Regions from separate parts of the Homo sapiens genome. Here regions 1, 3 and 4 are each linked to region 2. Evidence: promoter capture Hi-C in 16 types of primary human blood cells and fetal thymus (Javierre and others, 2016). All regions are on one chromosome and are shown on one strand. Each heading gives the region's core, a stretch centred on a gene start or on the middle of the fragment in contact. The rest is flanking DNA. Distances are from core to core; before and after follow the strand shown. Region 1 overlaps RXRA (retinoid X receptor alpha). Region 2 holds the start of BRD3 (bromodomain containing 3). Region 3 overlaps VAV2 (vav guanine nucleotide exchange factor 2). Region 4 overlaps VAV2 (vav guanine nucleotide exchange factor 2).

What was found. Contacts are between HindIII fragments. The CHiCAGO score rates a contact against its expected background, and 5 or more counts as called.
Region 1: a contact is called between a fragment that was not itself captured here and the fragment with the promoter of BRD3 in region 2, in 1 of 17 cell types (naive CD4 T cells). The highest score is 5.3, in naive CD4 T cells.
Region 3: a contact is called between a fragment that was not itself captured here and the fragment with the promoter of BRD3 in region 2, in 1 of 17 cell types (M1 macrophages). The highest score is 5.3, in M1 macrophages.
Region 4: a fragment that was not itself captured here is called in contact with the fragment with the promoter of BRD3 in region 2 in 1 of 17 cell types (total B cells); the score reaches 5.2 in total B cells.

Annotation. Positions count from the first base shown.
Region 1 is chr9:134,438,334-134,443,115 of GRCh38, forward strand. It overlaps RXRA (retinoid X receptor alpha), which reads left to right. Exons shown (of 10, transcript NM_002957.6): 10 at 1-2,252. Among named protein-coding and RNA genes, the nearest start is that of MIR4669, 61 kb to the left of the region's middle. The HindIII fragment of the contact is 2,268 bases long and covers 1,872-4,139 here.
Region 2 is chr9:134,066,742-134,071,837 of GRCh38, forward strand. BRD3 (bromodomain containing 3) reads right to left here and starts at 1,285. Exons shown (of 12, transcript NM_007371.4): 1 at 1,204-1,285. RefSeq lists silencers at 731-980, 1,161-1,890. The HindIII fragment of the contact is 7,653 bases long and covers 89-5,096 here.
Region 3 is chr9:133,793,859-133,798,544 of GRCh38, forward strand. It overlaps VAV2 (vav guanine nucleotide exchange factor 2), which reads right to left. Exons shown (of 30, transcript NM_001134398.2): 10 at 3,852-3,951; 11 at 2,571-2,666; 12 at 1,810-1,878. Among named protein-coding and RNA genes, the nearest start is that of SARDH, 58 kb to the left of the region's middle. The HindIII fragment of the contact is 6,769 bases long and covers 1-4,686 here.
Region 4 is chr9:133,773,323-133,777,878 of GRCh38, forward strand. VAV2 (vav guanine nucleotide exchange factor 2) reads right to left here. Exons shown (of 30, transcript NM_001134398.2): 23 at 4,067-4,141; 24 at 2,706-2,758; 25 at 1,613-1,729. Among named protein-coding and RNA genes, the nearest start is that of SARDH, 37 kb to the left of the region's middle. RefSeq lists a silencer at 1,584-1,810. The HindIII fragment of the contact is 3,733 bases long and covers 311-4,043 here.

The DNA of each region.
Region 1 (4,782 bases), core at 1,756-4,255, 370 kb after region 2:
GAAGAAAGTGTCCATTCTTTGCCTTCCTGGAGCTCCCAGCCAGAGCTGAGCTTAGGCACCCGAGTGGAGCCTGCAGCTGAGTCTGTGCCCGAGACAGGCTGTCAGAGATTCCAGAAGCCTCTCCTCCCCGCCGCCCTCCACCCCTGCCTTTCAGCGTTGTGGATCCCTAGAGGTGGCCCCCTGCCCGATCCACCGTCCTGAGGCAGAGTGTTGAGCCTCATACCTGTACCAGGTCCCCGGCCAGCTGGGCCCCTCCCAGGCACTGCCAGGAAGCCCCAGCTGCCCCTGGCGGGTGTGGTGGAAATGGCAGGAGGGTGCAGGTACTCTTGGGGCCCCAGCGGTGGGAGTGCAAAAGACCCAACGCCAACACCTGGTGCCTTCTGCAGCCAGCGCCCACCCATCCGTGCCCGGACCCTTGGGAATGCCCGCGGCTCCAGAGGAAAAAGCCCAGGGACGGGGCCTCCGTTGCGGGGGGTCGGCTGCTTCTTGGGAACTTTGTCGTTTCCGGCGCTGGCTGGCTGGCTGGCTGGCTGTAAAGCACTGAAGCCCCCCGGCCGCCAACCCCTGAAAGCAGAACCTGGCCTCCCTGGCCACAGCAGCCTTACCCACCGCTCTACGTGTCCCGGGCACTTCCCGCAGCCTTCCCGTCCCTTTCTCATCGGCCTTGTAGTTGTACAGTGCTGTTGGTTTGAAAAGGTGATGTGTGGGGAGTGCGGCTCATCACTGAGTAGAGAGGTAGAATTTCTATTTAACCAGACCTGTAGTAGTATTACCAATCCAGTTCAATTAAGGTGATTTTTTGTAATTATTATTATTTTGGTGGGACAATCTTTAATTTTCTAAAGATAGCACTAACATCAGCTCATTAGCCACCTGTGCCTGTCCCCGCCTTGGCCCGGCTGGATGAAGCGGCTTCCCCGCAGGGCCCCCACTTCCCAGTGGCTGCTTCCTGGGGACCCAGGGCACCCCGGCACCTTCAGGCACGCTCCTCAGCTGGTCACCTCCCGGCTTTGCCGTTCAGATGGGGCTCCTGAGGCTCAGGAGTGAAGATGCCACAGAGCCGGGCTCCCCTAGGCTGCGTCGGGCATGCTTGGAAGCTGGCCTGCCAGGACCTTCCACCCTGGGGCCTGTGTCAGCCGCCGGCCCTCCGCACCCTGGAAGCACACGGCCTCTGGGAAGGACAGCCCTGACCTTCGGTTTTCCGAGCACGGTGTTTCCCAAGAATTCTGGGCTGGCGGCCTGGTGGCAGTGCTGGAGATGACCCCGAGCCCCTCCCCGTGGGGCACCCAGGAGGGCCCTGCCGGAATGTGCAGCCTGTGGGTAGTCGGCTGGTGTCCCTGTCGTGGAGCTGGGGTGCGTGATCTGGTGCTCGTCCACGCAGGTGTGTGGTGTAAACATGTATGTGCTGTACAGAGAGACGCGTGTGGAGAGAGCCGCACACCAGCGCCACCCAGGAAAGGCGGAGCGGTTACCAGTGTTTTGTGTTTATTTTTAATCAAGACGTTTCCCCTGTTTTCCTATAAATTTGCTTCGTGTAAGCAAGTACATAAGGACCCTCCTTTGGTGAAATCCGGGTTCGAATGAATATCTCAAGGCAGGAGATGCATCTATTTTAAGATGCTTTGGAGCAGACAGCTTTAGCCGTTCCCAATCCTTAGCAATGCCTTAGCTGGGACGCATAGCTAATACTTTAGAGAGGATGACAGATCCATAAAGAGAGTAAAGATAAGAGAAAATGTCTAAAGCATCTGGAAAGGTAAAAAAAAAAAATCTATTTTTGTACAAATGTAATTTTATCCCTCATGTATACTTGGATATGGCGGGGGGAGGGCTGGGACTGTTTCGTTTCTGCTTCTAGAGATTGAGGTGAAAGCTTCGTCCGAGAAACGCCAGGACAGACGATGGCAGAGGAGAGGGCTCCTGTGACGGCGGCGAGGCTTGGGAGGAAACCGCCGCAATGGGGGTGTCTTCCCTCGGGGCAGGAGGGTGGGCCTGAGGCTTTCAAGGGTTTTCTTCCCTTTCGAGTAATTTTTAAAGCCTTGCTCTGTTGTGTCCTGTTGCCGGCTCTGGCCTTCCTGTGACTGACTGTGAAGTGGCTTCTCCGTACGATTGTCTCTGAAACATCGTGGCCTCAGGTGCCAGGGTTTGATGGACAGTAGCATTAGAATTGTGGAAAAGGAACACGCAAAGGGAGAAGTGTGAGAGGAGAAACAAAATATGAGCGTTTAAAATACATCGCCATTCAGTTCGTTTGTTCCGTGTGGGGACTTTTTTGTTTGGAGCGGGAGGGCCCGCGATCAGCCCCCACCAGCCCACCCTCCTGTCCACCCTACCTGCCGGTCCTGTGCGGCGAGGCTGGCATCCTCTGTGGGCCATACTCTTGAGAGTTCTCTCCCTGTCCACTGGGCTCTGCTGCTCCTCCAAGGGGCAGGGGGCTGGGGCCTCCGTGAGGGCACCTCTCAGCAGCCGTGGGCACTGGGCCTGTGGGCGCCTGCGGAGCACGAGTGTTCCCACCTGTCCCTCCCCAGGCTGCCTAAGCATCCACGCCTCTGCAGCCACGCTGGCCCAGATGGGCAGGAGGTGCACCCAGAGGGCCAAGGAACACACGATGTCACCCAGCTGCCCCAATAACAACAAGTTAATGATGCCCCATCTGCATTGTCTCCTGTGATAAACGCCCTCTGTCTCCATGCTGTCTGGGGCTGGGCTGCTCCCGGCCTGGTTTGGTCTTCGTGCCCGGAGCCCTCTCATGCACCTGTGTCCAGCCAGGCACCCTCCCCGAGAGGCACCAGACACACTGAAGATGGGGAGTGGGGCTCTGAAGGTCCAGGTCCTGCCCTGTGGTGGTGGGCAGAGGACAGTGTGGCCTGTGCCCAGAGCTAGGGTGGCTCCCGGGTGAGACTTAAAATGGAACGGCCTGCCACCTGAAAGGCAGGGACTTCCTGATGGCACTCCCCTCATGAGCACACACACATTCACACACGTGCATACTCAAACACGGGCACGGACACGCTCACATGGACCCTCGCACCCATTCATACGCATGCACACACCACGTGCTCACACAGATGCTTTGGCATGCACACCCATGCAGAACTGCTCCCGTGCACACACCCATCGCTGCCCTTGCACACACCCATGCATGCTCCCATGCACACACACCCATACAGGCTCAGTTGCACACACCCATACACGCTCCCGTGCACACACCCATACACGCTTTCATATGCACATACATCCATATTCCCATGCACACACACCCATACACACTCCCATGCACACACACCCATACATGCTCCCGTGCACACACACACTCATGAACATACACACTTGCACTCAGCCCTGGAAGGATCGACAGAACAGTGGGGGTCTTGGGTGCGGGGCTGAGCCAGCCTCCCTTGGTGGAGTCAGGACCCCACACCAACATTCTCCCTCTTCCTGGGAACGGCGGCTGTGCGGCTGTGCTCTGAAACTCTGGGCCACTCCCTGGGCCCCCAACCATGGCTGAATGGTGGGTGCCACAGGAGTCTCGACTCACTTTGCCATCTTAGGAGCCCCCCTGGGTCCCAGCTGCACATCCAAAGGATCCTCCCTGGGCTTCACACCCTCCCCTGCCAGGGCCTCGGCTCTGCCCACTGAGACCAACCTGGGCTTCTCCAGAGGGGTCCAAGTGTGAATGGACCCCGAGGGAGGGCGGAGTCCTTGAAGTGGCCACCCGCTTCCTCTGTGTCGGCACAGCCCTCTGCCGACCTGGCTTGCTGAGTCTGGCCCACCCATGTTCTCTGCATATAATCTTGCACACATGAAGCACGTGGGCCCCTTCCGTGGTCTGGAAAAGGGGTCGGCCCTGGGGCTTCGGGAGCTGGGATGTGGCCTCCCTGCTGAGAGGCCTCCCATCCTGCTGCACATCTGCGCACATGGCTGAGTGCTGCTGTGTGAGACACCAGCGGTTGGAAGCTGGCTCTGTGCCCTGGTGGCCCCCTGGACTCTGGGCACAGCCTCCACGGACACCCGTCCTTGGGGTGAGAGTGAGCCCTCGGAGTTCTCAGGCCAGAGCGCAGGGACAAAAGGGGAAAGCTGAGGTCTGTGGTTGCAGGACACGGACCCCTCGGGGCTCTGGGAGAAGCCCAGGAAGGGGAAGCTTCCCGTAAGTTCCCAGGGCCTTGGTGCTTGTTTTAATAATGGGGCAGGGTGTTACTATGGGACTTCCTGGGGTGAGCGTGGGGGGAGTTTGGTGCCCCTCCAGGGACACGAACACCACCCCGTGCTCCCACCAGCCAGGCAGAAACTCCAGGCTGCTGGCTGGCGCGGCATCGCAGGACAACCCAGCTTTGGGCCTCCCTTCGGCATTTGGTTGCCACGGTGACTCCTGCCCAGGGCAGTCCCTCTGGACCAGAGATGCTGGGCTTGATAAGTTCTTCACCGTCACTCTCAGGCAACGACAGCAAGCCAGTGTGGGCTGGAGGTTTGTGAACTGAGAGGCAAGGGAGGGGGCAGGGGCTCAGGCACCTGCGGTGGGGGCAGGGACACATGGCTCCTGGATGGGCACCGCTGAGCTCCCTGTGCTTCCGTCCCTGCCATCAGCCAGCAGACAGCATGATGGGAGGAAGGGCGCACGTGGGGAATGGGGCGCATCCTGAGAGCACATCCTGAGAGAACGGGGCAGCCCCTGCACTTTGTGCAGGCAGTGCACACTCAGGGCGGAGGAGGGGTCATCGCTGTGCCCAAGGACAGCTGCACCTGGGTGACCAGAGGAGGCCAGGGAAGTCTCAGGGGCCTCAG
Region 2 (5,096 bases), core at 35-2,534:
TACAGTCTCCCCTCCTGGTTAACTTTTGCAGACAATGACCAAGTTTAATGTAAGGGGGAGAAATCCCAGTATCTATTTCTGAGCAGAAAGCTTTCAACCAAAATTAAAGATCGCAACCACTCAAGGATTGGGTCGAACGGAGGAACCCACACGATGGACGCCGGGTCCCTGCCCCCGGTGGGTCTCGGCGGGCCGAGTTCTCGCCCTCCAGGGAAAGGAGGCCGCGCGAAGCCCCCATCCCGGCCCTGCCCCCGAACGAGCAACCGGTGGAATAAGACTTCCCGCACGCCCCAGCTTTATTCACAGAGAGCCCACCAGGGCCATGTGGGTGTACACGGTTCGGGGTGCGCATTTCTCCCCGGATGGGCTTGTATCACGTTGTCACTCCGGCGCCCCCCAAAAGTGGGAAGGAGGGGAAGCACCCCCGTCCCTCCCGCTCCAACTCGCCCTCGCCCGGATTAAGCGATTTTCAGGCTGATTTCAAAACGGGAACTGGGTCTCCCCCTGGTTTGGGTGCAATAATCCGGCAACTCAGGGGGGCTCAAAGTCAGCTCTGGGCCCGTAACTCTGGGAGGAGGCCGCGCAGAGCCCAGGGCCGAGCCCGGCCTTGCCCCCCGCCCCGGCCGCGGCGCGCGGCGACGGTCCCCAGGCGCGGGCCCCAGCAACGGCTCGGGAGCGAGGCCGGCGGAACAGGCGCGGGGAAAGTGGCCCCGCGGAGCGCACGGCCGCAGGCCGGGGCCGCCGCGCGCACCTTCCCCCTCCGCGTCCTCCCTGGGTTCCCCCTTCGAAAGATGGCGGGCGGAGGAAAGGGGGAAAAAAATCCCTTCCGTGAGGGAGGGCGCGCGGAGGCCGGGCTGGCGCGGGGCGCGCGGGCCGCGCCAACTCCGGGCTGCGCGCCCCGGCCGCAGCGACGCCCCGAGTCCGGGACGGAGGCGGCCAAGCGGGAGCGGGAGGAGGGGAGCGGAGCCCGCGCCACCGCCGCCGCCACCGCCGCCGCGACCCCGGGCGGCCGCCGCGCTTTGTTGCATCGTGGCCGCGCACAAAGGCGGCGGCGGCGGCGGCGGCCCCGGGCGCCCGGTTCACCCGGACGCGCCGGCGGACTGCGCGGGGCGCTCGGGGCCGCGCTCCCCGGCCCAGCCCGGCCCGCCGCCGCCCGCGCCGCCCGCCGCCCCGCGCGCGCAAGGAAGCAAGAGAAAGGCGTACTTGGCCTCGCGGCTCCGGCGGCCGTCCCCTCCCGGCCCGCGCGGCCGGCTCCTCTTTGGCTCGCCGGCCCCGGCAGCATAATAGACGCGCCGGAGCCGAGCAGGGCTCATGCGCTGCGCCGCGGCGCCTGGCGGGAGTCGTAGTCCGCGGCCGGGCCCGCGCCGGGGCCGCCCAGGGGAGGCCGCGGGCGCGCGGACTACATGTCCCGGCCCCGCCGGCGCCGCGCCCCGCCCCGGGGGCCCCCGCCCGCCCCGCCGACCCGGCCGAGAGCGGGCCTGGCCCGGGGGGCGCGCGGGGGCGGGGCTCGGCGCCCGCCCGGCAGGGCAACAACGCTGGGACCCCGTGGGCCGTTCCCCGCCCGGGCCCGCACGGCTCTCCTCACCCCGTGTCGGGGACAGCGCCTGGCGGCGGATTTTCCGGTGCCCCAGGACGGCATGGAAGAAGCGGGCACGCAGCCAGCACCGCAGCCCCCGTCCGGGCACCCCGAGGCCCGCGGGAGCCACCCTCGAACCCCGGCCGCGCACGGGCGGGGCGGCGCGCACCTGCCGGGAGCCCGTGTTTGTAAACAAACCGCGCGCCTAATTAGCCTGGCGGGAGCGCGCGCGCGGGGCGGGGGGCGGGGCGTCGGTGCGCGCGGGCAGGTCGGCCCCGCCCGGGGAGGAGCCGCGCTCTGCCGCGCCCTCCGTGTCACCATCTCCCCCACCCGACTTGCTGGGGCGCGGGCGCCCAAGTTCGCTGTTGCTGGAGAGGGCGCCAAGTCCCCAGAGCTGGCGAAGAGTTAGGGGTGCTCCCAGCTCTGCCTGGGGACCTTCTCGCCCCAAGCCCCGGTTTCCCCATCTGCCCAGTGAGGGGCGGGAACTAGATACCAGGTTCCCAGCCTGAGATTCCGGGAGAGGGCCACCCCTGGCCCTTTTTCTGTATCTTGAAAGGTTCAGCCCGTGGACACGTTTTGCATCTTGTTTTGGGTGATGACGACTCGGGTTTACACATAAATCAAGTTGTGGGGGGGGGGGTTTTGTTGTTTTTTTGGTTTTTGTTTTTTTTTTTTTTTTTTGAGACGTTAGTTTCGCTCTTGTCACCCAGGCTGGAGTGCTGTAGTGTAGTGAGTGGCTCGATCTCGGCTCACTGCAACGTCCGCCTCCCGGGTTCAAGCCATTCTCCTGGCTCAGCCTCCCGAGTAGCTGAGATTACAGGCACCCGCCACCACGCCCGGCTAATTTTTGTATTTTTTAGTAGAGATGGGGTTTCACCGTGTTGACTGGGCTGTTCTCAAACTCCTGACGTGAGATGATCCGCCCACCGCGGACTCCCAAAGTGCTGGGATTACAAGCGTGAGCCAACGCACCCGGCCACATAAATCAATTTTAATCCAGCTGTAACTTAAGGTGGTTACACGTTGTGTACATTAGACCCCAATAAAAACGTCAAAAACAAAACGAGGTTCCTTGGTGCCTGCTGAACCTGCCAACTGCAAGGTCGAGTTTCCTTGTGTGGGCTGCACCCACCCCAAGCCCCTGGGGTCCCCAGGTGTGTTCCAAGTTGAGCAGCAGCTCCACTGCCTGAAATGCACACATCTATGCAATATTCACAAAGTGAGTGCCAGCACAGAGACAATTCATCCCCATGCTCACCCAGAAGGCAGGTGTTCTGTTCCAGGCTGACAGGTAAGGAAACAGGCTCAGTGAGGCAAAGGGTCCTGCCCAAGGTCACAGAGCCAATTTGCAGGACGGCTGAGACCCAAAGCCCCGGGGTCTTAGGAAGAGTTTGCAGGGGAAGCCAACACCTTTCCCAATCCTGTCCCTCTGTTTCTGCTGGGAGCCCAGGACCTTCTCACACTCCAGGGCAAGGCTCTAGGACGAGGTTCCAGCCTTGCCTTTCTAGTTGGCAAAATGGACAAAGTGCAGTCCTCAGGCGCAGGAAGGTCGGGGAGGGGGAATATGAGAGGTGAGGATCTGCAGGCAGTTCCCTTAGAACTACCATCCTGGTTGTGTCCCCAAACCCCCGGTGCAGTTCCTCAACCTACAGGCTTCTGTGTTAGCCACCTTGGAGGCTGCAACCCATTCCTGCTGTCTGCATCTCATCTCCTTGGGTATCTTGAGCACTCTGACCACCAGGATGGCCACCTCACCACTTACACAGACCCCACTGCACTCCTCCCAAGGCTAGAACAAAAAGCCTTTCCGCCTGGTCTTGACCTCAAGGAACCCAGGTACATGCACACAGCAGGCTGCCCTGACCAGCCAGCGTGTCTGAGGCTGCTGACCAAATGCCCCCAACCCTTATGGGCCTCCCACTGCCCTAAGGTGACCCCCAGGAGTATGGCAGGAACCCAGGCGCTCCCTGGGCACTGGCTCTGATGGAAGCACCAAGGTCCCCTTCTTTCCCTTCCCGCTGCTCACCCACACATGAGTGGCCCGGATGGCTCCATGGAGCCAACTTTCCCGAGGCTGGAGAAGTCTCTAGGAAGCAGAATCTGTAAGGGAACAGGACAGAAACTCTCATTTGAGCATCTCAGCCCCTGTGCTACTATCTCTGAAGACTAGTTTAGGGGCCACAGTGGCAAACAGCTGAAAGCCAGCAGGGCTGCCATTGAGAAGGGATTTGGGGTGGCTCTGCAGTCCCCTCCAGCCCCTAGCAGCCCATCATCCTCTCCCTTCCTGCTCAGGCTCTTGGAATTTTAACCTCTGGTACTGCTGAATTTCCCAAGTGAAGCCACTTAATCTCCCCGACCCAGGTTTCCTCCCCTGTCACAGGAGGATAAAAATAGAACCTGATCCCGCAGCTCTGGTAAGGGAGGGGGGCATGTGCAAAGGTTGGGGCTGTGATCAGGAGCAGGCTGCTGCCTTTGCCTCCTTGGCCATCACTCACCTCTCTACCTTCACGTTTTACTTCCTGAGCCTCCTTGTGGGCTGTCTCACGGCTCCATGAGAGCAGAGCACTTTGTCCATGAGGTATCCCTAAACATCCTTCAACAGTATCTGGCACCTAGTGGGTGCTCAATACATAGTTGTTGAATGAATAAATGTTCTCTTCTGCACCTCTGTCCTGCCCTCCAGCCTCCATCTGCAAACCTCAGTGTAGCCCAAGCTCTACCAGTGAAGCAGCCACCTGCTCACATCTAAAGGAGGACCCAGAGCCAGGCTCCAGCCAGTACAGGAGCCAGGGCCTCAGCTGCCTCCTCCTCCTTCACCCACAATGCCCCTTAAGGCAGCAGTCCCCAGCCTTTTTGGCAACAGGGACCAGTTTCATGGAAGACAATTTTTCCACGGATGAGTGGGGGCAGATAATGGTTTTGGCATGAAACTGTTCCGCCTCAGATCATCAGGCATTAGATTCTCATAAGGAGCTCACAACCTAGATCCCTCACGTGCGCAGTTCAGAGTACGGTTTGCGCTCCTGTGAGAATCTGATGCAGCTGCTGATCTGACAGGAGCCGGAGCGCAGGCGGGAATGCTGGCTCACAAGTACTCACCTCCTGCTGTGTGGCCCCGTTCCTAACAGGCCACGGACCAGTAACAGTCCAAGGCCCAGGGGTTGGGAATCCTGCCTTAAGGCGCAGAGCAGTTACATCATGGCACTGAAGTTTATACATCAGTTTCTTGAAAGTTTCATTATCATGTGTCTTTCCCCAGGACTGACCAGCTCTCAGCACAACTTTTTAAGAAAATGAATTTCTGTCTCCACCAAGCAGAGGCTGGGCTACAGAGAACTCTGGAGGGTGGAGGAGCAGAGGTTTTTAATTATACAATAATTTAGTGCCTACTATGTGCCAGGCCCTGTGTCAAGAGCCTTATGTACACCATTTTACTGAATCCTGGAACAGTTCTATGACGTAGGGATGATTATGTCTACTTTACAGGTGAAAATGGAGGCAAAGTTAGGTTAAATTACTA
Region 3 (4,686 bases), core at 1,303-3,802, 270 kb before region 2:
GTACAGCGACGACTCCCATAGTGGCTGCATGAATGACTTCCTATATAAATTGGGAATGGATCAAAAGACTTCTAAAATCCCCCCAGCCCTGAAGTTTCATGATGAGGTTCGGTGGCTCTCAGAAAGGCAGACGCACACCCGCAAGTCACCGAGTACTTTGTGCAGCACCGTGAGCTACACTCCTGGGAAACCATCCCGTCGAGGGGCTCAGAGCCACTCGCCAGCCAGACACCGAGTGCTGAGAGTATGAAACGCAAGACCACACTCAGGGCCCGGGTGCACGGCCCACTGCACCTGCTGTCACTGTCTCAGAGCCCCCGAGGACGCATCCACGCTGGCTCACACACCGTGGCTCACAGCAGACAGGCCAGAGCAGGTGTTGGAGAGGGGCGGCTTGGGGGCTGCAGAGCTGACACCGAGAAAGTTCTGTCAGCCCGTCATGGCAGGAGGCTTTCCTGGAGCATTCCTCAGGGTGCTCGCTGCCCAGTGCAGCCGAGCGGGAATCTGAAGGTCTCTGGGACCACCTCCCGTGCCCACACACGAGTGCCCACAGGATTTGGAGTAAATTTCTCCCCGAGCACAAGCCCTGCTCAGAGAACCTCTTAGCACCGGCGGCCAAGCACTGGCCCCACTCCCGTCCCAGCCCAACAGCAGCTATAGACAGAGACAGATTACAGCCCCTCCCCCACCCAGAGGGAGCTCCTTAAATGAGGTACCTGGGAAAGGAAAAGGGGGCCCAAAGCCCAGGGGGGCTGCCCAGAGGGCAGGGGCCAGGTGTCAGAGGGCAGGACTGCAGCCCTGAGGGGGGCTGGCAGAGGTGTCCTGTGCTCCCGACGAGGGAGATGTGGGGGGGGTCGTCATCCCTCCACCCAGATGCAGCTGGAGGGGACCTACCACATGCCAGGTGCTGTGCCTGGCCTGGGGACACAGGTGACTATGGCTGACACATGCCTGGCTGGGAAGGAGATGGCACGAACAAGTGTGTCCAGGAGGAAGAGTGCCACCCACGAGGAAGCCAGTTCCCTGAGGACAGAACCCAGTGGGGGGCGATCCTCCCTGGAAAACGTTCTGTCCACAGTGAAGGCAGGATGAGCAGGACGTGGCCAGGTGACGAGGAGGAGGGTGCACCTGAGCCAACACCCGGAGCCGGGGAAGTGCAGGGCACGTGCAGGAGCCTGGGAGGGATCAAACCTGCCTGGAACTGTGCTGAACACAGCTGCGACATCAGGGGCAAGTATCCTGCAGAAGGCCGGGAGTGCCAGAGTGAGGAGCCCATGCCTGCTTCATGGGCAGAGGGAGCCACGGAAGGTTTCTGAGCAAGGGAGTGGCATGAGCTGAGCTCACCCGGACAAGGGGAGAGAGGGAGGCATGGCTGGCTGGGGGCCCTCGAAACAGCCAGGAGCGAAGGAGCTCCCCAGGCAGGTAGCTGAGAGATGGCACCGGAGGTGGCATTTTAGAAGCAGAAGCCTCAGTGCTGGGAGTGAGAAGCACTGGGCCAGAAAGCCCAGAATGGAGGCCAATGCCTGGGGGAAAAGCAGGGGGAGGGGAGGCTCAAGGGAGGTCTTGTTGGACAGGTGAGGTTAGGACTCGGGACACCTGAGGGGGCACCTGACCTGCAGTGCCCTCCACCCGTCACCTCTACCTCCTGTGGGTCTCACCCACTGCCCTGCCCTGCCCTGCCCCAACTCCTGCTGTCCCAGGAAACTGTCCACAGTCAAAACTGAGGCTCGTTAATGAGCCCAATTCCAGTCCAAGAACACGGGCTAAGCCAGACGGTGGCTTCTCCCCTGCCTCAGTTTACCCACACACCTGCATGGCTTCCAGTGCTTCTTTGAGCTGCTGCCTCTCAGGCCGTTCCGCAGAATGGCTCAGAAGCTCCTGGAAGGGTGAGAAGAGTGTCATGTGTTACCACTCGGGGGTTCTGGCCTCTGCCCTGGCCCCTACCTGGGGCAGGAGGTGTGCACAGAACCAAGTCCTCAGAAGAAAGCCACCCCCACCCGCCAGCCAGGCTGGGTTTGGCTGCCCGACACCAAAGGACAGAGAGTGACTCCTCCACAGGGGATACCCCACTTCTTGGCAGGGGCGCTCCCAAACCTTGTGGATAAGGGAAGGGAGTGACCGTGAGAAGGGCCATGAAGGCAGCAAAAAGCAAGGCGCTGTGCCAGCATTCCACGGGAAAAGGGCCTCGCAAGGTGCCGGGCAGAAACCACCGCCTTCCCTCCCAGGTCTGGCTTTCCTGAAGCCCTTCCATGTCCATTTCTGCCATGGCCACCAGGAAGCTCAGAGACCAACCACAGTAGCTTTCTTATTCCTGGTGTGAGGACGCTTTTCTGTCTCTTTCAGTTTTCTGACCTCTTTAGTGATTGGACTCATCATTTTCCTCTGTGTATTTACTGTGATAATCGGCCATCACATGCATTGAGCGGTGATTATGAGCTAAGCATGAACTGACTTGTCTATATTCAACTTAATCTGTCTGTGGGCTGCAACCTATACCCCCTGGAAGCTGCCAGCCCTCATCTGACTCCAGCAGTGATGACCCCGCAGGCACCCGGGGCCCAGAGCCTCACCTTCAAGAGCAGGTGGTATTTGAGCACCCTCTGCATGGGGACCACCAGCAGGTCTTGCAGCTTAAATTTTCCATCCTGGACCTTCAGTGTGCACTCCTGGGAGGGCGACAGGGCGATGGGAGAGCCCTCCCCGAGGAAAGCCTGAACCCACCCACCTGTACCCCCGCCCACAGAGAGGGGAGACCTAAGCCCAGAACTCAGGCCCAGACGTTTGGCCCTTCTCTAGCCAGGCTCCCGGAACCAGTCCATGCACCAGGTGTGTGCAGAGGGGGGGGCTTCACAACACATGGCTCCCACCCTGCCGTGTCTGCACTGGCCACACTGGGACGCAGTGAGACACGTGCGATGCTACGGAAACCCTCTCGGGGCGCCTGCTGGGCCTGTCTGGATGTGGCCTTGACTCTTCCGCCAGGCCAGGTCCTTTGGAGAAGGTCCTTTGGAGAAGGGGCAGCAGGCCATCCCCCATTCACCAACCCCTCTCTGGTCTGGCCTCTGGGAGAAGCAAGGTGGGGCACCAACTTGCACTGAGCTGTGGGGCCACTCCCAGGAACCAGGGCATTCCCCCATTCATTGACTGGACTTGGGGGGCATCGTGCATCTCTACTGGGGGGCCACGCTGCCTCCACCACTGCTAGAGCCAGGGGGCTCTTCACCAGGCTCCACGCAGAAACCAGGGTGTACTAACCAGATGGAGCCTGGAAACTCCAGCTGGGAACAGGAGGGGCTGGGAGGGGCTCACGTGAGAAACACTAGATGTTGACAGAGACTTGCCCTGGGCCTGGGGTGAGGATGGATGAGGGGTGGGTGGCCCCACAGTTCCCAGCAAATGTTACCCGGGACTCCCTGGGGTCAGCGGAGGCCAGGATCAGGGGTCAGTCAGAGCCCCCAGTTGATAGAGACTCGCCCTGGGCCTGGGGTGAGGATGGATGAGGGGTGGGTGGTCCCACAGTTCCCAGCAAATGGCACCTGGGGCTCCCTGGAGTCAGCAGAGGCCAGGATCAGGGGTCAGCCAGAGCCCCCAGCTGAGTCAGATTCAGTCCCAAGGACGTTTCTCCATGGGGAGTCTCACTGTGTCCTGGCCTGGGATGGTGACCTCCACCCAACCCACTCCCCAACCCAACACAATGCAAAAAAGAAAAATCTACAAAAAACCATTACGTCATCACCCCCATCACCACCTTCCCAACAAATGGGCAAGAGAGAGGCTGGTACCTAACGAGCTCTGGCCTGCAAGCTGCAACCTTGGAGCCAGGGCCAGGGCCAACGCCTGGCAGGACTTACCTCGACTTTCTGCCTGAAGTCCTCCCGGCTGGCCAGGAGCTGGTTCAGTGTGTTCTGGGCGTGCTCCATGTGGCTGCAGTACTCCCCGTAGATCAGAAGCCTGGACGGTGCACACACACGCACACACGCACACAGATTTAATGAGCAGCTCGGGGCTGCAGTGAGCCCGTCCATTTTTCCCAGCAGGCTGTAGGTGCGCAACCAACAGGCCCCTCCCCTGACAGCTCCCTGCACGTGGACACATTCAACGGCCAGGAGGCTGCTCTCCCCTTCCCGAAGCTACCGGGCCGCAGGAGGGCTGCCGGCGTGCTGGGAGAGGGGGTGCCCCTGCTCTTCCTGAGTCCCAGGTGGTTCTAGGTCAGGTCCCGGCTGGGATGCAGGCTGGAGCTCTCAACCTCCCATCCCACCCCCAAAAAGGGCCAACACTGGAGGAAAGAGAAGCCCCTGACATCCCCCCAGGAAAGAAGACCCCAGGAGGGCTCAGAATCTTGCCCCCAGGCCCTGAGCACCGAGGCCTGCACTGGCTCAGGGCTCACCCTCATGCTGTGCCAGGTGGGGAACCCCTAAGGGTCACCCTTGTTGCTTCCACATGGTGTCTGGATTCCACAAGCAGGGGACAACAGCAGTGACAGCCCCGTCTTCAGGGATGCAGGCAGCCAGGTGGCCCCCGGACCTGGGAGGACGCCCAGGAAGCCAGCCCTCGTGTCCTGCCCACCGCCTCCTCCTGGCCCCAGCATCGCTCTCTCCCGGCCACTCTGATTCCCCCTTCAGTGCCTTGTGCTGGTCTCTTTAGCCACGACACCTTCTCCCTCTCCCTGCACTGGGCCCACATCTC
Region 4 (4,556 bases), core at 927-3,426, 290 kb before region 2:
CAGCTGTATGGGGTGCTTATCATGACTGGAGCTTGCAGGACTGGAAGTTGCTCTGGGTGAGCTGGAGAGTGGTGAGTAAATGTGAAGGCCTAGGACATTGCTGTGCACCACTGTAGACTTTATCAACGCTGGACACTGAGGCTACACTACATTTATTTTTAAAACATTCTTTCTTCAATCGTAAATTAACTTTATAAACTTCTTAATTTTTGTTAACTTTTTGAAGCTTGGGTAATAATACTTAGCTTAAAACACAAACATATTACACAGCTGTACAAAGATATTTTATTCTTTGTATCCTTATTCTATAAGCTTTCCTGTTTTTTTTCTTTGTTGTTGTTGTTTTTACTCCTAAGACAACAATGCCTTCTTCTAGAATGTCTCCTGAAGGACGTGCCTGAGGCTGTTTTACAATTAAGTATTTTTTTGCTGAGTAGAAGGAGTATGCTCTAAAATAAAAAGCACTGTATAGTGAATCCATAAACCAGTAACACATTCATGTATTACGATGATCACATACTATGTATGTGCAGAATTGTTTGTCCTATGCTTCTATATGACTGGCAGCACTGTAGGTTTGTTTACACCAGCATAACCACACTCACATGAGTAATGGGCTGCGCTATGATGTCACCAGGCCATGGGAACATTTCAGCTCCATTATAATCTTACGGGACCACCACCACATATGGGGTCCCTCACAGACTGGAATGTCATTATGTGGCCGATGACTGTATTTATCTACATAAACCAGACACATAGCAAGGACTCCACACCACAACCCAGTGGGACATTCCAGGAATGCAAGGTTGGTTTAACATCTGGAAATCAGCTAATGTAATAAACAGTCATTAAACAAATGGTGGCCTGGCTGCCTGGTCCTCTGTGAGGCCTTCATACAGCACCCATCTTGTTTCTCCCTGGATTTAATGTGCACCATGAGTGTGTGCGCCCTACCCCCAGCTCCTGGTCGGCAAGGCCCATCTTAGCCTCCTGCAGGCCAGGCACACAGAAGGCTTTCTGAGAATTTCTTTCAGGTGGGCAATGTCCCACCAGCTCAGTGCTTGGTGGGCTCCAGCCCATCAGGGTCGGTCTCCTGGAGAGTTAACTGCAGCCCCACAAGGAGGCGGCTCCCAGGGAGAGGGCATAGGGCAGGAGGATGCCCAGACTGTGCCAAAGCCGCAAGGCAGCAGTAGTCACAGGAGACACCCTCCTAGGCCCCTGGCTGCCTCAGAGCAGCACGACAGGTCCACTCTCTCAACCTGTGGGGCTGCTGGGAAATCCCTGAGCTCACACAGGATCTCACCCACCCACTTGTACCTGAGCTTATCTGGTTCCCATGACCCAGAAATGTCCAACCCAGCCCACAGGGCAGCCAGGAGTGATGTAAGCATGGACCATCTGTGCATGCCAGGGGTTCAGGCCCTGCCCAGCACACCTGTAGAGACCCCCTGACCCCTCAGCACCGCTTTCATCTCAATAATGTCCTCACTTGGCAACAGATGACATGTCCACCCCAACCCCACGAGCTCAGGACGTGGAGAGGATGGTGCTCTCCACTTCAGAACGGCATTGGGGGATGGGTCTCCTCGAGCCCAGAGCCGCCACTTACTTGATGCTTATTGCAAAGCGCTCAGCCTCGGCAGGCCGCTCCCTGATCAGGTAGGTCCCGCTGGCGTGGGACTTGAGCAGGTTGTCCGTCTGCTGCCTCTCCATGTTACCTGCAAACCTACAGGAGGGGGCCGGGAGGAAACGAGAGCCGCAGTGAGGACAGTGTCTGAGGGGTGCCCAGCCCTCCGTGCGTGGCAGGCCACATGAAGTACTCTGCAGTCCTCATCTGAGAGCTCATCTCCTAATGAACCCAAGAGAACAGGCTGGGTCCCTATGAGCGGGGCACCACTGTGGATGGGGTCTGGCATCTGACCCTTCCTACAGTGGGATACAGTGAGGCTCAGGACAGATCTTGAGAGGGGTTAAATAGAGGGGTGACTGTGGCCACCAGCCAGTCCCACATGCTGTCTTCTGCTCTACAGACCCCAAGGGCCTGCCAGAGGAGTTCAGCGTATTCAGTAGATCCAATTTCTTTCCTAAAATATATTTTCACTATTTCAAAAGCAGTAAAGGCATAACTGCTTATGTGGATTTTTTTGGTAACACATTGGAGATTGCCAACATCCATGTCAGTTGAATTTTGAACAGATTTTGAAACGAAGCTCTTCCTGCCACCTGTACTGCAATGAAGCCCACCCTGAGAGGGCAAGGCAAGCTCTCTCCCAAAATCTGCTGCCACACTGTCAGGACAGTTGGGACTTCTGTGATTTCAAACAGCCTCACTGTTCCCACCAAGCAACTGTATTGTCAGTAAGTGGATTACACCTGTGACCTCAAATATACCACTTTTATATAGTGCAGATAAAATTCAAAAAGGGTTTAATTCCCTGAAATATCTGAGCCAGTTGAGCTGTTTTAGAGAGGGTTAACAGCTGCCTACAGGAGAAGGACTCCCCCAGGCTCCTGGAGAGTTATAGGCCAGGAGGGAGAAGGCATTTGGGAGCCACTGGGCTCAGTGCCCTGGAGATGGCAACAGGCAGCCTGGGGCCTCCACCCTGCTGGGCCGCTCACAGGCACCACCCAGACCCGGCGGGCATGCCCCCATAACAAAGAGGCCACCAGATGCCCATGTCTGCAGCCCACGATCCACTCACCAGGGGTATGCAGTGTAGTCGATCTCCCGGGATGGCGGCCGGCTGATGGGCGGCTGGTGGCAGAGCACAAGAGTGTTAACGGCCCCCCAGGGCCACTCACAGAGCAGGGCTCAGAGGGGGTCATTGTCAGTGACTGCCCTGTCCCCACATTGGCTGCCCTGGAGGGGACTGTCTGTGGACTTAGCCCCAGCGCCCCTGGCCTGGGAGGTGCCCAAGGGTCGTGGCCAGGACAACCTCATCTCTGAGTAGATGCCCCGTGGGTCTGATGGAACAGATGTCGGCATAGCCACCAGCTAACACTGACTTGATCCCCTGGGACAGCAAGGACCGAAGGTGCGGGAAGTTTTCAGCCAGTGGATGTGAGACACCCACAGCCAAGCTCCCTGCTCCAGAGGTCTGGAAACCCCGGGGTGGGGGTCTGGTGGTGGCCACACTCAGGCAGGTGCTGCCGCTCCAGTGAGCAGGTAGGGCTCCCTCCCTGGCTACAGCCCCCCACCCTGGCCTCACTGGGCCACAGGCTGGGCACAGCCTCAGAGACTACCTCTTCCCTCGCACCCTATTCACCATGCAGATGGGGAAACTGAGGCCTGGGGAAGGGAAGGAACCTGCCCCAGGCCACCTAGTGAGTTTGTGACCCTTGTCCTCCCCTGCCGCCTGGTCCCCTTGGTCACGCAAAGTGCCCTAAGTGCTGAGCACCTGCCCTTTCAGCAGAGGTAGCACACAGGCGGACGGGACTGGGGCTGGGGTCGGGGAGCACCGGGGCTGCCGCAGTGGGGTTGGGAACCCACCCCTGCACCTTCAGAGGTTCCACGCTCTCACTCTGAGCTGTCCTTTCGGGGTGGAGGTGGGGTAACTCATTTACTCAAGGCTGCCTGCTGCCTTTCATCACAGAGCCGAGAATTCGCTCCATATCCCTCAGATGAAAGAAATACCATATTGCCTCTGTTTTAAATAGCATAAAGTCTAGCTTTGAATCCTTATGTTTGAGGGGAGCCTTTTTTTCTCTCTAAGGCTGCGCAATAGTCCAAGAGATCTTATAGAGTCCCCGAAATCTGGTGAAAGGCAGCTGGCTGGTCTTCACCCCATTACAGCTGCTGCAGAAATGCCTGTTTTGGTGTTTCTAAAACCACAACGAAACGACACCCGATCGGCTGAGCCCTTTAAACAGAGGAGAGCGTGCTGCCCCACAGCCCCCCACCCATCTTCTCTCTGGGCTCCAGCTCCAGGAAGCAGCTCACAGCAGCCTAAATTTAGCAAGGATGTCCTGAACAAGCCAAAAATGTCCACGTGAGGAGGCAGCTCCCAGAACCCTCAGCACCCAGGCCACCGTGCTCCAGAAGCTTCTGTGGGAAAGGACTCACCCTTCCATCCACAGGGCAGGGCTTCACAGATGAGCTGGGGAAATACCCTGACTTCCTGGTTTGTACCAGACGACCCTGGCAGAGGAAAGAGATGGTTAGGACAAGGGGGCCGAGCCTGGCCTATGGGAGTGTGGGGCCATTTAGACGGACTCAGCGTATGCCAATCCCGCTCCTGGAGGGTGGGAGAGCCAATGTCTTCTTTCCCAACCTCAGCTGACCCGGCAGCCAGTTAGGGCAGGGAGGTGCAGGGCCTCCCACCCTAGACATGAGAGCACTAAGGCCTGGCACAGCACCAAAGCACCTCCACAAGGCCCCCCCAAGAAGCTGGCAGCCCTGGTCATACCCGGGGAGGGACAGAGCAGGACTGATACTCTGCACAGCTCAGATGGCCTTTTGCACCCTCTGAACCTCCTGTTACATGAATGTAGGGTCTGGTACAAGAAATCCATCACCGAGTATGGACTGATAATGACCATGACAAAATGACCAC